Linked DNA regions of Homo sapiens: region 1 is linked to region 2. The links are contacts of gene promoters, found by promoter capture Hi-C in blood cells and fetal thymus (Javierre and others, 2016). All regions are on one chromosome and are shown on one strand. Each heading gives the region's core, a stretch centred on a gene start or on the middle of the fragment in contact. The rest is flanking DNA. Distances are from core to core; before and after follow the strand shown.

Region 1 (4,153 bases), core at 400-2,899, 1.0 Mb before region 2:
TTTTCCCAAATGTTTCTTCATGCTTTAGTGCAAAGGCCAGCACACTTTTCTGTAAAAGGACACAGAGTAAGTATTTTCAGCTCTGTGGCCCATGCTTTGGTCTTTGTAGCACCTACTCTACTCAAGTCTGGAGTTAGTGTGAAAACTGCCACAGACAAATGAATAGGTGTAGCAGTGTTTCTACAAAACTTTACAAAAATAGGCCAGTTTTTGTATGACCCTGCTATATTAACATACAAAACATACTGAATACAGATTCACAGAAAGGCATTACCAAATTCATTTGTCATTCATCTTTTATTTCCTTAATCAAACAAAGGTACAAATTCTAATAAGAAAAAGTGAGATCTTTATGTTAACAAGGGGCTATTCATATTGGAAAGCTGAGAATCACTACTTGGGACACAAAAGTTTGGGTCTCCAGGTCTGACGAAGACTACTATAAAGAAACCTGCTCTAACATTGTAAAGTGCATAGTCTATGCCCTAAGCTGTGCTAAATACTTTCTTTACATGGATGATTTCTTGCATTTGAAAACAAAACCCAATATGAACCTACTATTAACCTCGATTTTACAGGTAAGCAAGCCATGTTTCAGCAAGTTTAGTAATCTGGCAAGGCTGACATAACCAAATTAGTGGCAGAGAAGAAACCAAACTACAGAGCTACAACCACGCAGTCAGTCCTTTACTATGCTAGCCAACCAATCCTCCATGGTAAGAAGATTCACCAGGTTTGAAAGATTGGCTTAAATCCTTTTTTTTTTTTGAGACATAGTCTTAACTCTGTTGCCAGGCTGGAGTGCAATGGCACAATCTCGGCTCACTGCAACCTCCGCCTCATGGTTTCAGGTTGATTCTCCCGCCTCAGCCTTCCAAGTAGCTGAGATTACAGGCGCCCGCCACTACGCCCAGCTAATTTTTGTATTTTAGTAGAGATGGGGTTTCACCATGTTGGTCAAGCTGGTCTCAAACTCCAGACCTCGGGTGATCTGCCCCTCAGCCTTCCAAAGTGCTGGGATTACAGGCGTGCGCCACCCGCTGGCTTAAATTCTTGTACTCTCTGATGGTCTTCCCCTTTGGAAGATCTTAACAATTATCACTGCCTTAGGAGCTCTGATCTTCCTTTTAACTTCTGACCCAAGGATGGACACTTACTTTTTCCTCTTAAGCTTAAGACTTTATCAAGGATAATAACTGGAATTAAAATAGAGAAAAAAATTAGCTAGCTCACCAGATATTCTGAAAACACTGTTCCTGAGAAACCCTTATACGTTTTTATAGGTTGACGTCTTCCTTGGTCTATAATTTCCATGGGACAAAGACATTTCTCTACCTGGGAGTGCCCTTAAATTCAAGCTCTGGAAATCAAGGTCTAGGGAAAAATTCATTCACCAGTCTGAGACCTACCTTCCAGGTCCCCATTTTCTGTCCCAGTTGTCTTTTCTCTAGATTATAAACACTAAACAAACATGTGTGGTCTCTTTAGAGGGGATCCCAAAACCCAGCCCTGGTGGTTTGGTCTTACCTTGTGGCCTCAGAGGGCTACCTTATCATTATATGATAGCCTAACAACAATGTGGTATAGTGGGGCGGGTGGTGAGCAGGTGTCATTTTCCTTAGAGAAACCTACTCTACTTCCCAGCCAGGAGCCACTTAGTTGGAATGGGGACTGACACTTTATAGTTAAGTGAGCACATCACACTGATCTCTAAAACAAGACTTCAGTGGGGCAGCATTCCCCATTACCAGTCCAGCCTCCACAGCTTCTGATGGCTCCCACAGCTGCCCTTTCTTTATTTTGGTGTGACTAGCCCACTGCAGAGCCATTCCCATTACAGCCACTGCTATGTTCCTCTTTTAGGAACAAGTGACTACCCTGAAAAAAGAAGAGATGAAACAAATCACCCTTCAAATACAAAGTAAAATCATTCTTTAATTATTAAAAAAAAATCACTGTTGGGCTTTTTTTTTTAAAGGTCCATAAATTTTCAATGCAATGTTGAACTGGGGAAATGGTTATAGCAGCTCTCACATAAGTTATTTGAATTAATAAACATTATCACAGTATTAAGAAGGCAAGGTAAACAAATAGCTTAAGTATTTTATTTGTTTGCAACTAAGCTTGTTAACACTATATAATGAAAATGTACAAAGAATAATGTTGCAGTTTTTGGTTAGATTTAAGTCAAAGACATTCATTAATAAGGAATCTTCGAATGTGAATATTCCAGAAATTTCTCTAAGCCATCTGATCACAACAACTGTCTCTGAATATTACCTTACTTTGGAAGGTATTGGCATACATTTGAATTAAACTCAGAATTTTTCAAAATAAGCCCTAATTAAAAAAACTATTCTATATTCAAAGTAAAACAATATTAATAGAACTTTCCTTTCCAGAAACAATGAAGGAAACAAGGCATTTTGTAAAATGTGGTCCTGAACAAGTCACAGTAAAAAATAAATGTATACTTAACTTCCACCTCCTCAAAACAGAGGCTACTTTCTGTTCCTCAGCCTTGGAAACAAGGTGAAGAACAGCCTATATGCGACTTCGGGCAGGGGGTTGCCAAAACAAAGCTGAAGCAGTTGACCATGGACACCTCAAAAGAATTTGGGAGAACCCGACCAAAGGATCCAAATTCTATGTTTTTTTTTTTTTTTTGAGACGAAGTCTCGTTTTGTTGCCCAGGCTGGAGTGCAGTGGCATGATCTGTGCTCACTGCAACCGCCACCTCCAGGGTTCAAGTGATTCTCCTGCCTCAGCCTCCCAAGCAGCTGGGATTACAGACGCCTGCCACCACGCCCGGCTAACTTTGTTGTATTTTTAGTAGAGATGGGGTTTCACCATATTGGCCAGGGTGGTCTCGAACTCCTGACCTCAAGTGATCCGCATGCCTCGGACTCCCAAAGTGCTGGGATTACAGGCGTGAGCCACTGCGCCCAGCCCAAATTATATTTTTTAATAACTAATACAAAGGTGAAGTGGCTCCTCCCAAGTAGCAGTGCTGCCGGGGCCTGGCCCAGGCCTAGCCCTGGGCTCACCTCTCATGCTCCCAAGCCAACCCTGATGCTCCTGGCTCCAGGGTAGACCTTTTCCCTTTAGAGGTTCAGTGTCCAGGGAGCTCTATGATAATTGTGTGAATGAGGTGAGCGCTGACTCCATGTGAGTATTTTAAGGCTTGGAGTCAAAGAATTAACCTAACATGCCCAGGCAGAGTCCATGTGTCAATGGCCCGTCTCCAGTTTGTTCTAATTTCTCACCACGTGTCTGTAGATATAGGACCGCAGACCTTCGCTTTATCATCATAATCACATCTAATGTCCATCCTAACTTACGATTCATATTCTGTGCCTGGAAACAGTCCCTGTATTTAACAATACCTACACATAAAAACAATCCACTGTTACAACTTGTATGGTCACAAAACATTAATGATCTTCTTTAGACCAAGCAAATGTTTTTTTACCATAATTGTCGTGCACCAAATTCACAGCCAGAATCCCCAAGATCAAAAAAAAATTTTTGCACAATACAAATAATAACTTAAAATACACATACACACATATACACACACTCTCACACGCACTTCTTACAGAACTGTGCTTGGGGAAACTCCATTTGTTGAATGCCACTGAAGGCATATTTTGCTAAACTGCTGCTCCAGGTATTTTTGTTTGGAAAATCTATCACAGTAGGGCACAGCTGTTTATTGGATGAGCAGAAAAGAAAGATATGCTTGTGGCAACCAGAAAGTTTTACGGTCTTTCAAGTTGTATAAAATGGACCTGCAGAAACGTTTAAGTGTTCTCAGGATGCAAAGTTGGAGCTGAAATGTGACATCAAACCAGTTGCAAAAAGTGTACAGCAGCCATCTCTTGAGGTCAAACCTGGTACCCAGATATGTGACAAAGCTTCATGACACATCTGTAAATTAAGAATAAAAAACAAAAAGGGTAAGAATACTAAAAACTGTAGTGTCATGCTTTAAAAATTTTCACTAACAGTAAATGTGAGAAATAGCATGAACGATGACTCACCACTTAAAAGATACTAAAGATCAAGAATTTAAGGAACCTGACTGAAATTCAGTTAGATATACAACTGTTAATATTTTATGCTTTGAATATCTGGTAGTTGCAAATTATTT
Region 2 (4,303 bases), core at 1,520-4,019:
TTTTTTTGTATTTTTAGTAGAGACGGGGTTTCACTGCGTTAGCCAGGATGGTCTTGATCTCCTGACCTCGTGATCCGCCCGCCTTGGCCTCCCAAAGTCCTGGGATTATAGGCGTGAGCCATCGCGCCTGGCCCAGATCTGGTCTTAAACTGTTGGGCTCAAGCAATCCTCCTGCCTCAGCCTCCCAAAGTGCTGGGATTACAGGCAAGAGCCACCAAGCCCGGCCAACCATTGGGATTTGTATCCTAGCTTTGCCATTATTACCTGTGTCGCCCTTGCCAGGTTACTTAATCTCTCTGTGCCTCCATTTTCTCATCTTTAAAATGAGGATGAAAATATATATTTAGGCCAGGAATAGTGGCTCATGCCTGTAATCCCAGCACTTTGTGGGGCTGAGGCAAGAGGATTGCTTGAGCCCAGAAGTTCAAGACCAGCCTGGGCAACTTAATAAGACCCCTGCCTTTACAAAAAATTAAAATTAAAATAAATTAGCTCAGTGTGGTGGCCCACACCTGTAGTCCCAGTTACTTGGGAGACTGAGGTAAGAGGATCGCTTGAGCCCAGGAGGTTAAGGTTACAGTGAGCCGTGATTACACCACTGCACTCCAGCCTGGGTGACAGAGCAACACACTGTCTCAAAAACAAACAAATATAGATGCACATATATTTAATAAAGTTATTGAATAATCAGGTATGTCAATATATGTAAAGTGTTCAGGACTGGTGCAAAGAAAGAACTCAGGAAGTACTGGCTCTCATTAAGGCTATTTAGGAGAGATTAGAGCCATGCATCAAGAACAGAGATTCCAATACTCTGCCTTTTATCAGGCCCCTTCTGTACTCACTCATAACCCCTTGCTTTCTGAAGGCTCCCCACCTTTGCCCTCCCGTCCCCCAGAGCTGACCTCCTCTTGGTACCCACTCCACCAAGGCTGAGTAGTCTTCACTGCACTCCCCTGGGCTGGGAGTCTCTTACACCTGCAAGATACATCCCAGAGAGGCTGGGCATGGTCACTCATGCCTGTGGTCCCAGCACTTTGGGAGGCTGGGGCAGGCAGATCAGATCTTGAGGTCAGGAGTTTGAGACCAGCCTGGCCAAGATGGTGAAACCCCGTCTCTACTAAAAATACAAAAAAAAAATTTAGCCGGGCGTGGTGGTGCACACCTGCAGTCCCAGCTACTTGGGAGGCTGAGGCAGAAGAATCGCTTGAACCTGGGAGGTGGAGGTTGTAGTGAGCGGAGAGTGCGCCACTGCACTCCGGCCTGGGCAACAGAGCAAGCCTCCATCTCAAAAAAAAAAAAAAAAAAAAAAAAAAAAAAAATCCCAGAAAAAGGCCCCATCCATGGGCTGGATGCTCACTGCCTGGACTCCAGATAGCAGGTGCCTGTGATCCAAACCGAGGATGTTAGAGGGGCATACATACTGAAGCAGTGTCTGGTATCCATTCATTCATCAGATGTTTATTATGTGCCGGATATTGGAGTAAGTACTGAGAAGGCAGTGGGGAACAAAACGGAGCCCTGCCTTCATGGCTCTTACCATTTAGGCAACAACAGCAATAATAAGCAAGCAATGATTTAATTTTGAAAGGAAACCAGACCTGGTGGGTGACTTGGGACCCAGGAACCCAGGCATGATGCAGAGATGGGACGGAAAGGTTCTCAGGAGCCCCAGCCTGGGAGGGTGTTAGTTCCTCCGTGAGAGCTCTGCTACACCCAGCCTGGGGTGTGGGGAGGCCTCTGTGGGCACCTGAATCTTCACTCTAGATGCTAAGGTTATTCCGGGGTTGATTTGTTGTCTCTTGTTTCCACAAACAGCACAGTAGAGCCTCCTGCCTCCCTCCCTCCCCCACCTCTTCCAGACTGAGGCTATTTATTCCTAGTGACAAGCCTGAGGATCCCAGGGGGGGTGGCCTTAAGGACCTGGAGGGGCCTCGTGTCCCTAGCAGGCGCCAGTCCTCCCTCACGGACACAGGGAGGAAGCCAGAGGCTCAGACACCGCAGAGGTCCCCTCCCCTCTCCTCCACCACCCCTGAGGTGCCCCATCCTCTCACACTCCTCACACCCCACCCTAGAAGCCCAAAGATCATGGGGCCGAGGATTAGGGTCTCCCCCGGGCCTCAAAGGTCAAAACTATTCCTGGGCACTGCGGAAACCCAGGCAAGGCAGGACTTCTCAGTGTCAGGAGGCTGCTGGAAGTGGGGAGGTGGTTACCCCTGTTTTTGCTACTCAAAGTTGTGGAATAAAACCCTTTGGAGGTCAAGGCCCTATGGTGGGGAGGGGTCCTCTCTTCGTCCCATGTTTTCAGAGAACACCTTGGTGCCCGCTGACAGGCTCATGACAGCAGAGTCAAAACGTCCTCCTCCAGGCTGGATTAAGGCCGGGCTGAGTGTCACCCCTGGGGTAAGGTGAAGGGGTGGGGGGATCCGAGGAGGCCAGAGGACTCCCCCAGTGGACCATGGTCTGCGGGGTCTCGTGTCGCCGGCCTGAGATGGAATACAGCAGTCTCCCTCTGGCAGCTGGGGATGGGGGGTGGGAGGGGAGGAGAACAGAGGCTGCGGGGAGGGGACAGGGGCGGGGTCCCGGCCGCTTGAAGGTTGGGAGAGCCAGGTTAGGCCGGGCGGGAGGAGGGGGCCGGGCCGACTGGCGGCCGAAAGGGAGGTGGGGGCGGGGTCTGGCCCCCGCGGCGGGCTGGGGGGCCGGGGGCGGGGTCCGGGCGGGGCGGGCCCGCGCTCACTTCCTCGGGGAGGGGTTGGGGCCGCGCTCCCACTCGCCCACACGGTCCGTCTGCAGTCGGCAGCCTCGCCGGCAGCTCGCTCGGCCCCCGCTTGGCCCGGCCCGCAGGTAGGAGCCGCCGAGGGACGCGGCGCCCGGTTCCCGGCCCCGCCTGCGCCGCGCGCTCCCCGCTCCCGCCGCCCGCTTCGAGGTGAGCGCCCCGCCGACCCCGGCTCCCAGCCCTGGCGGTCCGCCCCCGCGCCCAGGCCGGGGAGCGAAGGGACCCGCGGAGGGCTGAGGCCAGCCGCGGCCCCGGTCCCCTGTACCCGCCGGGCTCTGGCCACGGGTGCCCGGGGCACGCCGAGCCCGGGACAGCGCCCGCCGGGACTGGACCCCTCCGGGCTATCGGGCGGGGCGGGGGCGGGGGCGGCAGCGAGAGTTGGGCGGGGGAGGGGGCTAAGTTTGAAATAGAAAAGCCGGAGAGAGACAGACAGACCGACCGACCAGAAGCGCTGGAGAAACTGAGGTTCTCGGAAAGCCCGGTGGAGCGAGAGACCGAGACAGGCAGGGACTCGAGGCACAGGAGGCTACCGAGACCACTGAAACAAGGACACACCGGGCGTACAGAGTTACTGGTGGACAGACCCGAGGCATGGGGGCCGTCCTAGGCTTTGTGGAGCATTTTCAGAAAAAGCATACGTGGGACCCCAGCGAACACATTCCCTAGGGCCCTTCCCCGGGCCTTGGAGGTGCCCTGAGGCTTGGGCGTCATTGGCCTCATGCTGAATCTGCTCTCTGAGGCCTGCAGAGACGCTCAGAGACTAGAGACAGAGACATTCAGGCGTGCAGAGGTGGCGAAAGAGACTTGGATGCAGAGACAGAGAAAGGGAGGTGGTGGGGATTGAGACATTCAGCCATGTAGACAAGAAGAGACCAAGACTTGAGATCCACAGAGGCATGGGCCCCCTGGGGGACAGCCAGTCAAGATACAGAGCCGTCCAAAACCTAAAGACAGAGACTGAAGTGTGCCCAGACACAGAGATGCTGAGTGAAGCAGAGACAGACACCAGAAACTGAGACTAAGTGGGGGCAGAGAGACCTAGGTGGTCTGACAGCTTCCAGGACAGCCCCTGACTTACCCGGGCCTGAACCATTGGGAGGTGAGGCTGTGGGGAAACAGAAACTCTGAGCCTACCGATCCCCCATGAGGCAGAGGCCCTGAGACAGTAAGTTCGAGATCAAGAAGAGCCCCACGCACACACACAGCCACCAAGACAGCCCCAACTTATTTTTGAACTCAAATCTTGGATGGGCTGCCTCAGCCCTGGGGGACCCAGGGTGAATGAACTGTTCCTCTCATGTCCCCAGAGCAGCTGCGGGATCTTGCTCCCCAACCCCCTTCCCTAAACTTCTCTGACTTCCAGGCCACATGGGGGAGAGCAGAGCTTGGGGTTGGTGCCCGGTAGCAGAGGGTGAGGGTTGAGGGAGTTGGATTTCTCCCCTTAAGTCTCCTGTCAGCTTCTAGAAGGTGGGGGAGGGGTCTGTTCTGATCCTGACTCACAGCTGTGGGACCTGGCCAGGGTCCTCC

What was found. Contacts are between HindIII fragments. The CHiCAGO score rates a contact against its expected background, and 5 or more counts as called.
Region 1: a fragment that was not itself captured here is called in contact with the fragment with the promoter of FHL3 in region 2 in 1 of 17 cell types (erythroblasts); the score reaches 5.1 in erythroblasts.

The regions. Positions count from the first base shown.
Region 1 is chr1:39,003,822-39,007,974 of GRCh38, reverse strand. It overlaps AKIRIN1 (akirin 1), which reads right to left. Exons shown (of 5, transcript NM_024595.3): 5 at 1,916-3,930. The coding sequence ends at 3,920. Among named protein-coding and RNA genes, the nearest start is that of AKIRIN1, 15 kb to the right of the region's middle. The HindIII fragment of the contact is 952 bases long and covers 1,174-2,125 here.
Region 2 is chr1:38,003,980-38,008,282 of GRCh38, reverse strand. FHL3 (four and a half LIM domains 3) reads left to right here and starts at 2,769. Exons shown (of 6, transcript NM_004468.5): 1 at 2,769-2,926. RefSeq lists silencers at 2,649-2,708, 2,739-3,098 and an enhancer at 3,951-4,303. The HindIII fragment of the contact is 9,980 bases long and covers 1-4,303 here.